Regions from separate parts of the Homo sapiens genome. Here region 1 is linked to region 2. The links are contacts of gene promoters, found by promoter capture Hi-C in human tissues and cell types (Jung and others, 2019). All regions are on one chromosome and are shown on one strand. Each heading gives the region's core, a stretch centred on a gene start or on the middle of the fragment in contact. The rest is flanking DNA. Distances are from core to core; before and after follow the strand shown.

Region 1 (6,812 bases), core at 543-3,042, 38 kb after region 2:
TCCAAGTAGTAGGTGAGGCGTGGGCACCCACCTGTCTCTGGGTAACCACACCTACCTGAGTAAGCATTGGGTAACCAGGCATGAGGCACCCATCTGCATGGGCAATTTGTACAATTACCCCGGGTGCCCAGGTGAATCAATGTTTACTTGCTGCAAAGCTGGGGAACCTCAACCTCGCCTGTGGTCCAGGGACCTCCAGGGCAGCAGCATGGGAGGAATGTCTGGTCCAAACGGCTAAGGCATCCCTGGCCCAGTTTCAGGTACAGACTCCAGCAGACTCTCCAGTATCCATTCAGGGTTGAGAATGTTGAGGAACCTGGAGATATTTGAAAAATAACTCCAGAAACAAATGAAGCGATTTTTAAAAACAGGGCACAGTGAGGTGAATTAACTCGCCCCAGGTCACACAGTGAATACACAGCAGAGTCAGAACTTGAACCAGGCACAGGCAGACTCCAGCATCCCCTTCTACTCTTGGGTTAGTATACTTATATCTACTGTTGCATATGTATGGAATAGAAGGTCTGGAAGCATGTACATCAAAGTGATTTTTCTTTACTAGTGAGATTATTGGGGAGGGAGGGGGGCTTTCACTTTCTATTCTTCACAATCATGTATTATTTCTTCTTTTCATAACCTGCATTAATTTTATATTTAGGAAAAAGTGAAAAGATGTGGTTTTGATCTGGTGCTCCAAATTGATAATGTTTATCAAAGGCTTTAAAAATATCCTAAGGGAATAATCACATGTAGTCAAGAGGATACAAGACTGTTTCTGGAATCACTGATCTTCAACCCACTGCTTTATCACCTGACACAGTGCAGCACCTGTTGCTGGAACATTCCACAGCCTTTAGGAGTGGAGTTTTGAAGAACATGCAATGACATGAGAAAATGTTAATGACATAGAGTTAAATATAGAAAGGAGGGTATGAAATTGTATACAGAGTATGATGCCATTGGTGTTTTTAAACAATTCCAGGCTGGGTACAGTGGTTCACGACTGTAATCCCAACACTTTGGGAGGCCAAGGTGGGGGAATAGCTTGAGCCCAGGAGTTTCAGACCAGCCTGGGCAACAAAGTGAGACCCCCCCCATCTCCACAAAAAAATGAAAAAATTAGCCGGGCATGGTGGTGTGTGCCTATGGTCCCAGCTACTCAGTAGTCTGAGGCAGGAGGATTGCTTGAACCTAAGGGGTTGAGGCTGCAGTGAGCCAAAATCATGCCACTGCACTCCTGCCCAGGTGACAGAGTGAGACTGTGGAAAAAAAAAATTAAAAAAAAATTTTTAATCCTATATAGAAATACTAGAAAAATGCACCAAATATTAATAACAGTTATCTTTGGATGTCAGGGTTATGGTAACTTTAAGCTTCTTTCTACTTTTCTTCATTTTCTATGATAATTGTATGTAACTTTTCTACTCAGATAGAACAATAACAAAACAACTAATGTTTACTAGTGTTTTCTGTGCTAGGTATGTTACATGTTCCATCTTATTTAATCTTCACCACAAACTTATGAGTAGATGTGAGGGAATGAAGACTTAGAAATGGGAAGTAATTTGTCCATTGTCACACAGCTGGTATGTGGTGAGGCTGGGGTCTGAACCCAGACAATCTAACTGCAGAGGCCACTCTCAACCACTATAGATGCTATTTTTCTTTAAAATAAAGATAGTACTTCAAGGGCTGGCTCCTGTTCATCTTGCCCAGTAGGCACAATGGAGACCTGAAGCACAGCCACCATGGATCGTTGGGCAGGCTGTGCTCTGCTTGCTAAGCGGTGAGTCTTGGCAAGGAACTGTATCCATCTGGAGAAAGAGGTGCTTTTTCATAAAAATGTGAATTAAAACCACAGTGAGCTGCTACTACATACCTACCAGAAACATTAAAAAGATGGACAATACCAGCCAGGTGTGGTAGCTCATGCCTGTAGTCCCAGCACTTTGGGAGGCTGAAGTGGGGTGGATCATTTGAGCTCAGAAGTTCGAGACCAGCCTGGGCAATATAGTGAAACCCCGTCTCTGCAAAAAATACAAAAATTTAGCCCAGCATGGCCACACATGCCTGTAGACCCAGCTACTTGGGAGGCTGAGGTGGGAGGATCACTTGAGCTTGGGAGGTGGAGGTTGCAGTGAGCTGAAATCGTGCCACTGCACTCCAGCCTGGGTGACAGAGCAAGACTCTGTCTCAAAAATAAAATAAAATAAAATAAAATTAGACCAAATGTTGATGAGGCTGTGGAGCAACTGGAACTCTCATTCATTGTTGGTGACAAAGTGATACATTGTTGGTGGTGCAATAAAATGGTACCACCACCTTGGAAAAAGATCTGTCATTTTTTTGTAAAATAAAACATACACCTACCCTGTGACCCAGTCGTTGTACTCCTAAGTATTTACTCAAAAGAAATGAAAACACAAATTCACAAAAAGCCTTGTAGAAGAGTGCACATAGCACCTTTCTCATAATAGCCCCAAATTGTCAACAGCCCGGGTGTCCATCAATAGGAAAATGGACAAACGAACCGCAGTATAGGCCTACAAAAGAATACTCCCCATTAATAAAAAGGAATGAATTAATGATATGCAGGAACAACATGGATGAATCTCAAAACACTACATTGAATGAAAAAAGCCTTACATGAGAGATTATATAAGGTATCATTCCATTTATATGAATTTTCAGGACAGGCAAAACCAATCTACTGTGGAAAAATATTGGTACAGTGGGTTGCCTAGTGTGCTGGAGGGGAGAGTATTGACTGGGAAGGGGCATGAGGGAACTTCCTGGAGTGAGGGGAATATTCTTTATTTTGAGAGGGTTTGGGATCACAGGTGTATGCATTTATGAAAACTCAATAAAAAGCACTTGTGCATTTCATCATATATAAATTTTACATCAAAAGGATAAAAGTTGTGAGCAAATATATGTGCATGCTGAAGTAGTTAAGGAAATTGTATTGATGTCTGCAATTTACTTTAAAATTTATAATGAAGTCGAAGCATTAATGAATGTCTAGAGGGATGGCTTTATGTGAAAGAAAAGCAAGTACAGTACAACATTCATAGAATTTAAATGGTGAGTTTAAGGATATTCACTATAAAATGCTTTCAACTTTTGCTGTGATGTTTGAAAACTTTCATAATAAAACATTGAAAAACAGGCTTCCTGTACACAAACATAATTATGAAAGAAGCCAGGCACAAAAGGACACACGATGTGTGATTTCATTTAGCTAAAGGACAAAATGAACTGATGAGATTAGAAGTCAGGATAATGGTCAGGACAGGGGAGTGAGGGGGTGTGTGTTACTGGGAAAGTTCTGCTTTTGCACCTAGGTATGGATGGCGGTGTTCAGATTGTGAAAATTCATGATTGGTGCACTTTTCTATAATGTATATTACACTTTTCTGTACATATGTGTATTGTACTTAATAAAACTGGGTTTTAAAAGACTTGTCATGTTACCAACTCCTGCTTCAATCAATATTTGGTAATAATTCACCATCTGTCTTACTCACAGAGAAATGTGGGTTCAAATTCTGGTTCTGCCACTTAGCAGCTGTGGGATCACACAAGTAACCTCCATGGGTCTCAGTTTTCTCCTCTGTTAGGAGGAATAATGACATCTCTCTCAGGGGAGGTGATGTTGAGATGGAAGGAGACCATACACACTCATTGCTTGACCCTGTGCCTGCCACATGGTATTAGGTTGGTGCAAAAGTTGACGAGTTTTTGCCATTAAAAGTAATGGCAAGAACCGCAATTACTTTTGCACCAACTTAATAACTGCTTTCAACGAGATTAAACGGTGGTGATTAATCAGTACCCTCAGGCTTCCCCTGTTTTCACCACCACCAGGGATGTCAGGACTGGGCAGCAAGAAAGGCTTTTGGATTGGCTGAGGTCCTTTGGGCCACTTGCTTAACTTCAACTTCTCTGAGCCTCAGTTTCCTCATCTACAAAGTACAGATGATAATTCCTGCTGGGCGGGGTTGCCGTTAGCACCAGAAAAACTTTAGATCCATTAGCTTGAAGATGTCCAGGGTTTTCTAAGGACCTTCTTGTGTTTTTTGTGTTTTTTTTGTTTTTTTTTTTGTTTTGTTTTTTGAGACAAGGTCTCACTCTGTTGCCCAGACTGGAGTGCAGTGGCTCGATCTCAGCTCACTGCAACCTCCATCTTCCAGGCTCAAGTAATTCTCCTGCTTCAGCCTCCCAAGTACCTGGGATTATAGGCATGTGCCACTACTGCCCGGCTAATTTTTGTATGTTTTAGTGGAGACGGGGTTTCACTGTGTTGGCCAGGCTGGTCTTGAACTCCTGACCTCAAATGATCCACCTGCCTCAGCCTCCCAAAGTGCTGGGATTACAGGCATGAGCCACCGCGCCCAGCCCCTTCTTGAAGTTCCAAACCCCACTATGGGGTCAATGGATGTAGCTTGGACATCTTGGAATAGAGGCTCTGGGGTCCTCCCCAGGATACAGTGACAGCCCTTGTGGCACCTGCCCCTGGAGGCCAACACGGTAGCCTTGCTGGCACAGCCTAGCAATTGCTCCAGTTAGTAAATCAGGGATTGCACTTCAGTGAGTAACCTGCCACCCAGGAGCAGTTATCTGCTGCTGCCACCACACAAAGGAAGCTCTGTTCAGGCACAAAGCGACTGCTTGGGATGCTGGCAAGACCAGAGCTTCCCCTGGCCCTCAGGCCAGGACTTGGGACTGGGTGTCTGGCCCTGAAGGTGGGTATCAGCTTCCCAAAGGTGACTGCCAAGCTCAGAGGCATTAGGACGTGCTCATTTCTGAGCTTTGAGACAGCTTGTCTTCCACCCACCCACTCTGCCAGGACCCAGGCTCGCTTTCCTGGGGGCAGCTGGTCATTCTAGTGTGGTATGTGTGTCAGCCATGGACCAGATGGTCTATAAGCCAAGGATCCTCAAATGGAGACCCTTGACCCCAGCCCAGGACTCCTCAGCTGGAGAATCAGCCCACTCCTGCCCAAGAGGGACAGGTGCTTAGGACCAAGTGGGCAGCCAGTAAACATACATTAGAGAGAATAGTAGCTAAGGGCTTAATTGCCGGGCAGCATGCCAAAGCATTACACCCATTGTCACATTTGGACTGTTATTATCCCATTTCTCAGATGAGGAAAGTGAGGTTTAGAAAGATGATGTAACCTGCCCCGGAATCCATGGTTTTAGCCCAGCTTGGGTGACTTTGAAGGGCCCCCAATCTTTTTTTCTTTTTTTTTTTTTTGAGACAGTGTCTTATTCCCATTGCCCAGGCTGAAGTGCAGTGGCCTGATCACAGCTCACTGCTGCCTTGAACTCCTGGGCTCTATTGATTCCACTGTCTCAGCCTCCCAAATAGTTGGGACTACAGGCACGTGCCACCATGCCCAGCTAGTTTTTTTTTATTTTTGGTAGAGATGAGGTCTCATGATGTTGCCCAGGTTGGTCTCGAACTCCTGGATCCACCCTCCTCGGCCTCCCAAAGTGCTGGGATTACAAGCGTGAGCCACTATGCCTGGCCAAGCCTCCACTCTTGCCCACCTTGTTATACTAGCAGCAAGTGATGACAACAATGATAACTGACTTTTAAGCACGGATAGTACATGTGCTAAGCACTGTACATTCATTATTGGATTAAATCACTCGAACGACCCTACGAAGTAAATATGATTATTCCCCATTTTATGGAAGAGGAAACTGAATAAATGAATGGCTGGTGGGCTTCGCCTCTCAATAGCTAATTTTTATCACATACCTTCTCAACAGAATTGGGTATTAGGACAGACACATTCATACTGATGATAGCCTTTCATCTCCACAACCCCAATAAGACGTCAGTGTTAGTTCTTTCACTTTCTAGATGATATAACTGAGGCTTGGAACAGTTACATTTCCTGTTACACAGCTAAAAGCGCTAGAGCTGTGATTCAAACCCTAGGCAATCTGCCCCCAAAACACACATTCCTGCCATTCTAAACTACTGTGCCAAGCCTACAAGCCAGTTGCCTTTAGCCATGCTTAATTGAAGAATGATGCCATATGGAATATGCCTGGCTAGGCTGATTAAATTAATCGAATGTCAAAATATCTGGGTGGACAAGAAGACAAGTCAGTGTGAGTCGAAAGGAATGCGTAACTGCCCCAGGCCCCTGGTTTTTGGGGGGCAGTGTTGCTTAGTGGTAAGGAGCCCAGAGTGCCAGAGCCAGCCTGCGTGGGTTCAAATCTCAGCTTTACCATTGACTAGCTGTATGACCTTAGGCATGTTGCTTAACTTTTCTGTACCTAGTTTATTCATCTGTAAAATGGGTATGATGATGGCAATATGACAGTGCCCATCTCCTACGGTTAATAGGATAATTAAACCAGTTAATATATGTAAAGCACTTAGAACACAGCCTGGCATGCTGTCAGCATTATATAAGAGCCTGTGATTCCATCCACGAGTTGGGCAATGTATGCAAGCACTTAAGTTTTGTCACATGCAAAAATATCTTTGCTGAGTTGTGATTTGATGTTATACCCTAGTTTTTATAGAGGGTGGATGTGACAAATAGTTATTGAAGAATGTGTCAGTGTCACTGACGAAGCTGAGGACATTGTTCACCATGTTGCACAACGCCCTTTATCTCAACATTCCCATGCTCGCTCTGTTCCTCCCGGAGCTGAACATCAGGAAAGACCATGTCTCTCCAGACCAGCACGTGTGATGTCTGGGAGCAGCACAAGACCCCTTTGGCTGTCAGGAATTTGGAAATAAAATGAAAGGTGCTGTTCATTGGCTTAAGCTGAGGTCCTAGG
Region 2 (6,410 bases), core at 827-3,326:
AGCTCAGAACTTGCAAGCCAAGCGCCGGGTGCCCTCCCCTTACCAGTAGGGGCAGCTGAGCCCCCAGGCTCTGCCACTGTAATCTCAAATGGTGGCTTGGAGTCCGCCTGCAATTACTCAGCAGGCAACTGGCTTCCCTCACCCCACCCCAAACTGAGAAGCCTCAACTGTCAGCGGATCTGACTTCAAATCCAAACCATTAGGGAGGAGAAAAGCAAGAAACCTTTCTGTTCAAGTAACCCAGCTTCAGAACACATACCCCCTAACGTGCAGTAATGAATAGATTCTGTCTGTAGCCTCCGCAGTTTTAGCCAGCAAATTTAAGTGGGATGGAGACACATGTCAAGATTTTTTTGCGCGTTCAAAGTATGGAAAAATAGCAAGAGGTTTGGGAATGCTCATTGATTGGTTAGTTCTACATGAAATGACAATGGTGTTACTGGTGTGTTCTCCACCAGCCTTAAAAGCAATCACTATTCTAAAATTGTCAAATCCTCTAACAACCCCATGAGGTGGATACTACTGTTGGCCACTATTTACAGATGAGGATTAAGGGACTTGCTCAACATCACACAGCTATAAGTGCTAGAGCTGGGACTTGAACCCAGGTGTCAGTACCAATGCTCCTGCTCTTATTCTCATTGCGGTCCAATTGTCAATACATTGTCAACCCCGGGAAATTCATTCAAAAGAAATGTGCCTGTTAACCCAAGTGATTGTGCTGTGAACATGAAGAGCTGAAGGGCTAGCTAGAACATAGAATCCGGTCTGCAGTCAGGACCTAGCACTGCTGTCTGCCCACAGATCTTCAAGTTCTTAAAAGTCTGTTGAGGAGCAGTTAGAAAAAAGATGGTACAATCCTTGCCTCTGCCCACTCACCTCTGAGGGTGGCAGGAAAAGGAGAGCCTGTGTTTAAAGGATTCTGGCTTCTCCTGCCAGCTCCCTGAACCCAATCTAAAGCAGCCCAGATCCCAGCCTCACCCTACCTTCTCTAAGGTCTGGACCCCAAGAAGGACATCATGGTGAAGATCAGCATCAGTCAGTCAGGATCTTAAATCTCAGATGTGGGCAGGAAGGCACATGCATCCTCCCAGCCAAAAGAGGTGACCTACCAAAAATCACTTCTCATCTTCCCCAGCCTTAGAACTGCCTCTGAATGAGAGGAACCACATTTTACTGAACGCATCTTCAGACCATAGCTTTATGCTAAGCATTTTACAGCATTTATCACACTTAACTCTTTCCAGAATTCTACAAAGCATTCTTGTACCCATTTTCCAGATGAGGAAAATGAAGCCCAGAAAAATTGAATGTCTTGTCTGAGATCACCCAGGGACAGAGCCTGGATTTGAACTTAGGTCAAGCCCACTACAAAGAGTACACATGCTTAACCACCACACTGTAACCTTCCCACTTGGGACTGTTCCAACCCAGCAAACAAGTCCCTTTAGAGAAACCCAACTCTCTGCCTAAGACAGCTCTTAGAACTACCTTAAAGAAGTTCCTTTTGGCAAGAAGATAGAAAGCCTCGATGGGATTGGGGTCGTCTGATTTCCAAGGCCCCTTCAGAGGATCAAAAAGTGGTGCCAGAAACCTTCACAGTTTCAGTCTTGTGTTTCCCTGCCTGGCTCGAAACTGCTCAGCAAAGAGAATGAGAAAAACTATTTTCCCAGGGAAACACTCACCTCTAGCTTGAGACTGGGGCTTGCCTTGACACGCCAAAGTAAGATCGTCAGCCCATTCATTTACCCTTACAAATTGCTCTGTGAATCCCGGTGCCGGCCTCCCCGCTCTTCCCCCTCCAGGAAACCCCATCCAGCCTCCACGCTCTGAGAGCGGCAGGTATCCACCGATGTTTACTCACTCAAGTTCATTCGACATCTTCCTGCTCCCAAGCTCCGACGATCAGCACTGAGGCTCTGCTGACCGCTTGTCTCTAATTCTTGCCTGACACAGACATTCTCTGCCCGGGAAAGTGTTTGATTTATGTTGAGGTTTGGGTGTCGAGATTTTGCTGACAGGTAGGTTCCCAGCAGCGCTGGCGCTGATTGGCTACAGGTACAGGTGCCGGCGACTGGAGGTATACCTCAACAGGTGCAGCTGTTAACTCTTAGCCCGCCGAGGAGGGCGGAGCTATGGGGGACTGGCTGGGTGGAGCTGGCCAATTCCTTCCTTGGTGAGGGGGTGGGGGGTGGAGATGAGGGAGGAGGGATGGAGAAGAAAATGTTGGAAAGAAGCAAGATAACTAGAGGAAAAGTACAGGGACAAACAGATAACTTGGCTTAAAGGAAAACTTGATTCCTGTTTCTAGTCATTGTCCCAGATACCCAGAAACATCCCCACCCCCAAATTTCTTTGCCCCCTCCTTCTGTACCACTGGGGAATTCTCAAAGGAGAGAGCAACTTTTCCCAGGTAGATCTTTGTATAAGTTCCCTTTTTTTCAGTTTCCCCTTTAAGGTAATATTTTTGAATAATCTTTTGCAGTTACTCAAGTGACTTCTTTTGGTTCTTAAAGTAACCTACCGTGGTAGATTTATTATCGCTTCCCCCTTCCTCTTCAACACATATTTTACAGATGAGGGAGGAAATGGAGGCCAGAGAGGCAAAGTGCCTTGCCCAAGGGCACAGCTAGCGAGGTCCCAGCCCAGATCCAATCTGCAGTCATCTCACTCCAAGTCTGGCTGCCCCTTGGGCTGAAGTCAGTGGCCTCAATTCAGTAGACATTCATTGAGCACCCGTTGTGTGCCAGACCCTACTCTGGGTTCTGGAGAAACTGAGGCCAGAAAAAACAGGGGTTACTGTTCTAAAGGAGTTTACAATCTGGGGGGTGTGTGTTGGTGGCAGGGGGTGGGGGAGTAAAGGAGAACAGGCTTTTATTGGGTGTGAAGGGGGTGTGGGCAAGCCACATACCTCTGGTCAGCACAGAAGGGATAGAAAAGTTGAAGGCTCCTCTGAAGCCTCAGCCAGCTGGTCATTTCACAGGCTCCAAGTGCTTCGTTCTGTATTGGGAACTTGGGAGAAATTCAATGCCTGTCAGATGAAGTAATTGTGGAGTAATTGCTGTGAGCTGTCTACTATAAAGAACAAGCTTGGTAAACCCCAGAATATCCACAAACACAAACAGGAGAATGTAAGAGCTTTTTAAAGAGCTTCTTCCAGGATTAGTTTGAAATTAAATCTAAGCCAGAGATCTTGGCATCTTTTTTTCCCTCTCTCTCTTTCTATTCTCCCCTCCCCCACCCTTCCCCTTTTGGCAAATTATCTCTTTGCTGTGTCTTCCTGGAAACCTCAACTTGGCCCACTCCTCTCTCTCTTCTCTGGGAACGGCAAGTGAGGTTTCAGCTACCCCTGCCAATTTATGGAGGTTTTTCAGGGTAAAGTCAGAATTCAAAGGAGCCCTCTTGGGGTGGGGTCAGGGCTCTGGAGAGGGGGTACTGGGTTTGAGAACTCTCAGAGATTGGTTTCTCCCTGGAGGCTGTGTTGGGGGAAGCCCAGGGGACCCTAATAAATAATAGTAAATAATTGCTAATAAAGCCACCTCCTCAGAGCAGCCCTCTTCAGTCACCCTTGTTAATAAAGTAGACATTCAATCACTCTGGATCACACTACTTTTTGTTCTCTGCAGAGCCCTTATGACTTATGATACAATGTAATATGACCTATGATATTTTTCTAATCGTTTATTGTCTTTCTCCCCTTCCTCTGGAATGTAAATTCCATAAGAGCAAAGACTTTGTGTCGCTCACTGTGGAATCTCCAGTGTCTGGCACCTAGTAGGTGCTTCATATACCACAGGCACCGGGCATTGTGCGCCTTTGCATACATTGTGTCGCCTAATCCTTACAGCAACCCTGGGAGATAGACATTTTTGATACCCCCATTTTATAGATGAGGAAACTGAGGTACAGAATACTGAAGTAAACTACTCAAGCTGCAGAGCTAGGCAGTGGTAGAGCTAGAGCTGGGATTTAATCCGAGAGCAGAGCCTGGGTGCCCAACCACTTCACAGAGCTTATTGGTGGCTGAAGGGCTATTTGGTGCCAACTGTAACTGCAAAGCTTATTGCAGTCCAAAGGATGGCACACTCCTCTGTATGTACCTGTCTGCCCACCTCATGGAAGGCTGTGGAGTTTCTGTCAACCGTGTTGCAACCCACAGGTGAAGGGCTGTGGGGTGACTCATGCTGACTGGGCTCAGGGGAGGCTGGGATTCCAGGTGGCGTGTCTGTGCTCGCTGGGGTTTTAAAAATGGGTCCTCTCCCTCTGCCTCTAGGTTTTGCCTCTTTCATCACCCGCACCCATCTTCAGAGATCAGCAGAGACCCAAATCACAGGGCAGAGGGTTTCTACGTCTCCACACACAGGAAGGCTACAGAAGTGTCCCGGATGGGATAGAAGGACCGGTGGTCTGGGCTAGGTAGGCAGGAACGCCATGAGCCAGTTTGCAAGGTCACCAGGCCCCTCAGTAGGAATTATACCTCCCAGGCAGGAGGTACAAGTGCTTTCTAGGCCTTCATCCCAACAACCCAGAGATGCCAGGCCTTTAAAGAGACACTCCCCGTGCTTTGCTGCTGCCCCCTTCCTGCTCCTGTGGGGCTGAGCAAGGCTGGCACCTACTTCCCCTTCATGGATCAGCACAGCTCTTGGTTCCTCTGCAGAGGAGATTTAAAACAGAACAGCTATTCCAAAAAAAAAAAAAAAAAACAAAGTTTAAAAAAACATAAACAGAGACCAGCCAATTACTTGTAACATAATAATTATATCCACAATAATGACAGTAAATAATGAGGGCTGCTGTTTAGTTAGCGTTTGTATTTTGCAAGCACTGTGCTAAGACTTACCTATGTGTTAGGATAGTATTGTTCTGAGACTCACAGGCCTCCTTTCAAATCTCAGCCCAACTAGCTACATGATGTCGGGCAAGTGGCTACAGCTCTTTGAGCCTCAGTTTCCTCACCTGTAAAGTGTATATAAAAATTGTATTCCTCCCTTATGGGGTTATTGTGAGGATTAAAAGATAATGCGTGTGAAGTGCATTATCTGTACCTGGCATCTAGCACTCAATACTTGTTAGAAAAGCCTTTTTTTCCCCCCTTAATTCTCATTTAAATCTAATGAGGAAGATATTAACCTTATTTCACAAGTGAAGAAACAGACTCGGAGGTTAAATGATTTGTTGGAAGTCAAAAGTTAGCTGGGTGCGGTGGCTCATGCCAATAATACCAGCACTTTGGGAGGCCAAGGCAGGCAGATCACTTGAGATCAGGAGTTCGAGACCAGCCTGGCCAACACGGTGAAACCCCGTCTCTACTAAAAAAACAAAAATTAGCTGGGCATGGTGGCATACACCTGTAATCCCAACTACTTGGGAGGCTGAGGCAGGAGGATTGCTTGAACCTGGGAGGCGGAGGTTGCAGTGAACCAAGATCGCGCCACTGCACTCAGCCTGTGCAAACAGATAATGTCAACAACAACAACAACAAAACAAAAGCTAATAAGTTAAAGAATTGAGATTTGAACCCACATCTTTCTGATTCCATTCTTGCAGGACTGGACTAAGTTAGGGAGTGCCCTGCGCTCAAGTTCTGCCTGACCTCTGGCTACTTATTGTGTGACTGAGTAAATTCTCTCCTCTCAGAGTCTCAATTTCCCTCTATAAGAACAGATTAGTGAATCACTATAAGGGGGGAGTTCCCTATTAAAATCATCTTGATTTGCTTTTCTAGATTACTGATGTTCTTTCTCCAGACGTTCTGATCTGCCCTCTTGGAGGACTGCACAGTCCTTCATCCCTCCCCTCCTTTCCACGATCATGCCTGTGCAGAAGCCACTGTTCCCAAAGAGTATGACACTTCTCCTTGGCATGTTGGGGAGGAGTAAAAGTTAGGGCCACTGTAAGTGAGCACTGAGAGCCAGGGCTCCTCTGTGTGTCTGTGAAAGTTGTGTACTGAACAATGACGGCACCATTTACCAGACGGGACATGCGCTGCTGAACATGAGGACCTTGCTGACAGCCGTCCTTTTCTAACACTTGAATGCTTTCTAATTATCCAGAACTCTTAATGCAAATCTGTTGACCTATATTCAAATATTGAAAGAATATATACCCACATGTCAACAGTGCTTCTCTGTGGGCACTGAAATACCAGGATTTCAATCTTTTCTCCGTCTTCCCCCAAACGGGCTACATTGAACTTGCACTGCTTTTGTAATTAGAAATTCTATACAAAGCCCCAGTTTAAATGTCATTAAACCAAAATAATTTCCCATTGACAAATGGCCATTGTGTCCCTATCCTTCCTGGGACAAGGGCAGGGATGAAGAGAGTGAAGACTGAGTCCTTGCCCAGTGATCCCCTGGGAGGCACAGGAATGGAGACGGGGGGGCTGTCTGGCTTGCAGGGGGGCTGTC

What was found. The method cuts DNA at HindIII sites, captures the fragments that hold promoters and counts their contacts. A contact is called where the count stands out against the background at its distance.
Region 1: a contact is called between a fragment that was not itself captured here and the fragment with the promoter of GRHL3 in region 2, in 4 of the 25 tissues and cell types used here (IMR-90 fibroblasts, lymphoblastoid cells, mesenchymal stem cells and 1 more).

The regions. Positions count from the first base shown.
Region 1 is chr1:24,276,754-24,283,565 of GRCh38, reverse strand. No RefSeq gene overlaps it. Among named protein-coding and RNA genes, the nearest start is that of GRHL3, 39 kb to the left of the region's middle. RefSeq lists an enhancer at 4,614-5,115. The HindIII fragment of the contact is 7,226 bases long and covers 1-5,405 here.
Region 2 is chr1:24,315,023-24,321,432 of GRCh38, reverse strand. GRHL3 (grainyhead like transcription factor 3) reads right to left here and starts at 2,076. Exons shown (of 16, transcript NM_198173.3): 1 at 1,865-2,076. The coding sequence starts at 1,881. All of the region lies in intron 1 of GRHL3-AS1 (GRHL3 antisense RNA 1), which reads left to right. The HindIII fragment of the contact is 14,571 bases long and covers 1-3,574 here.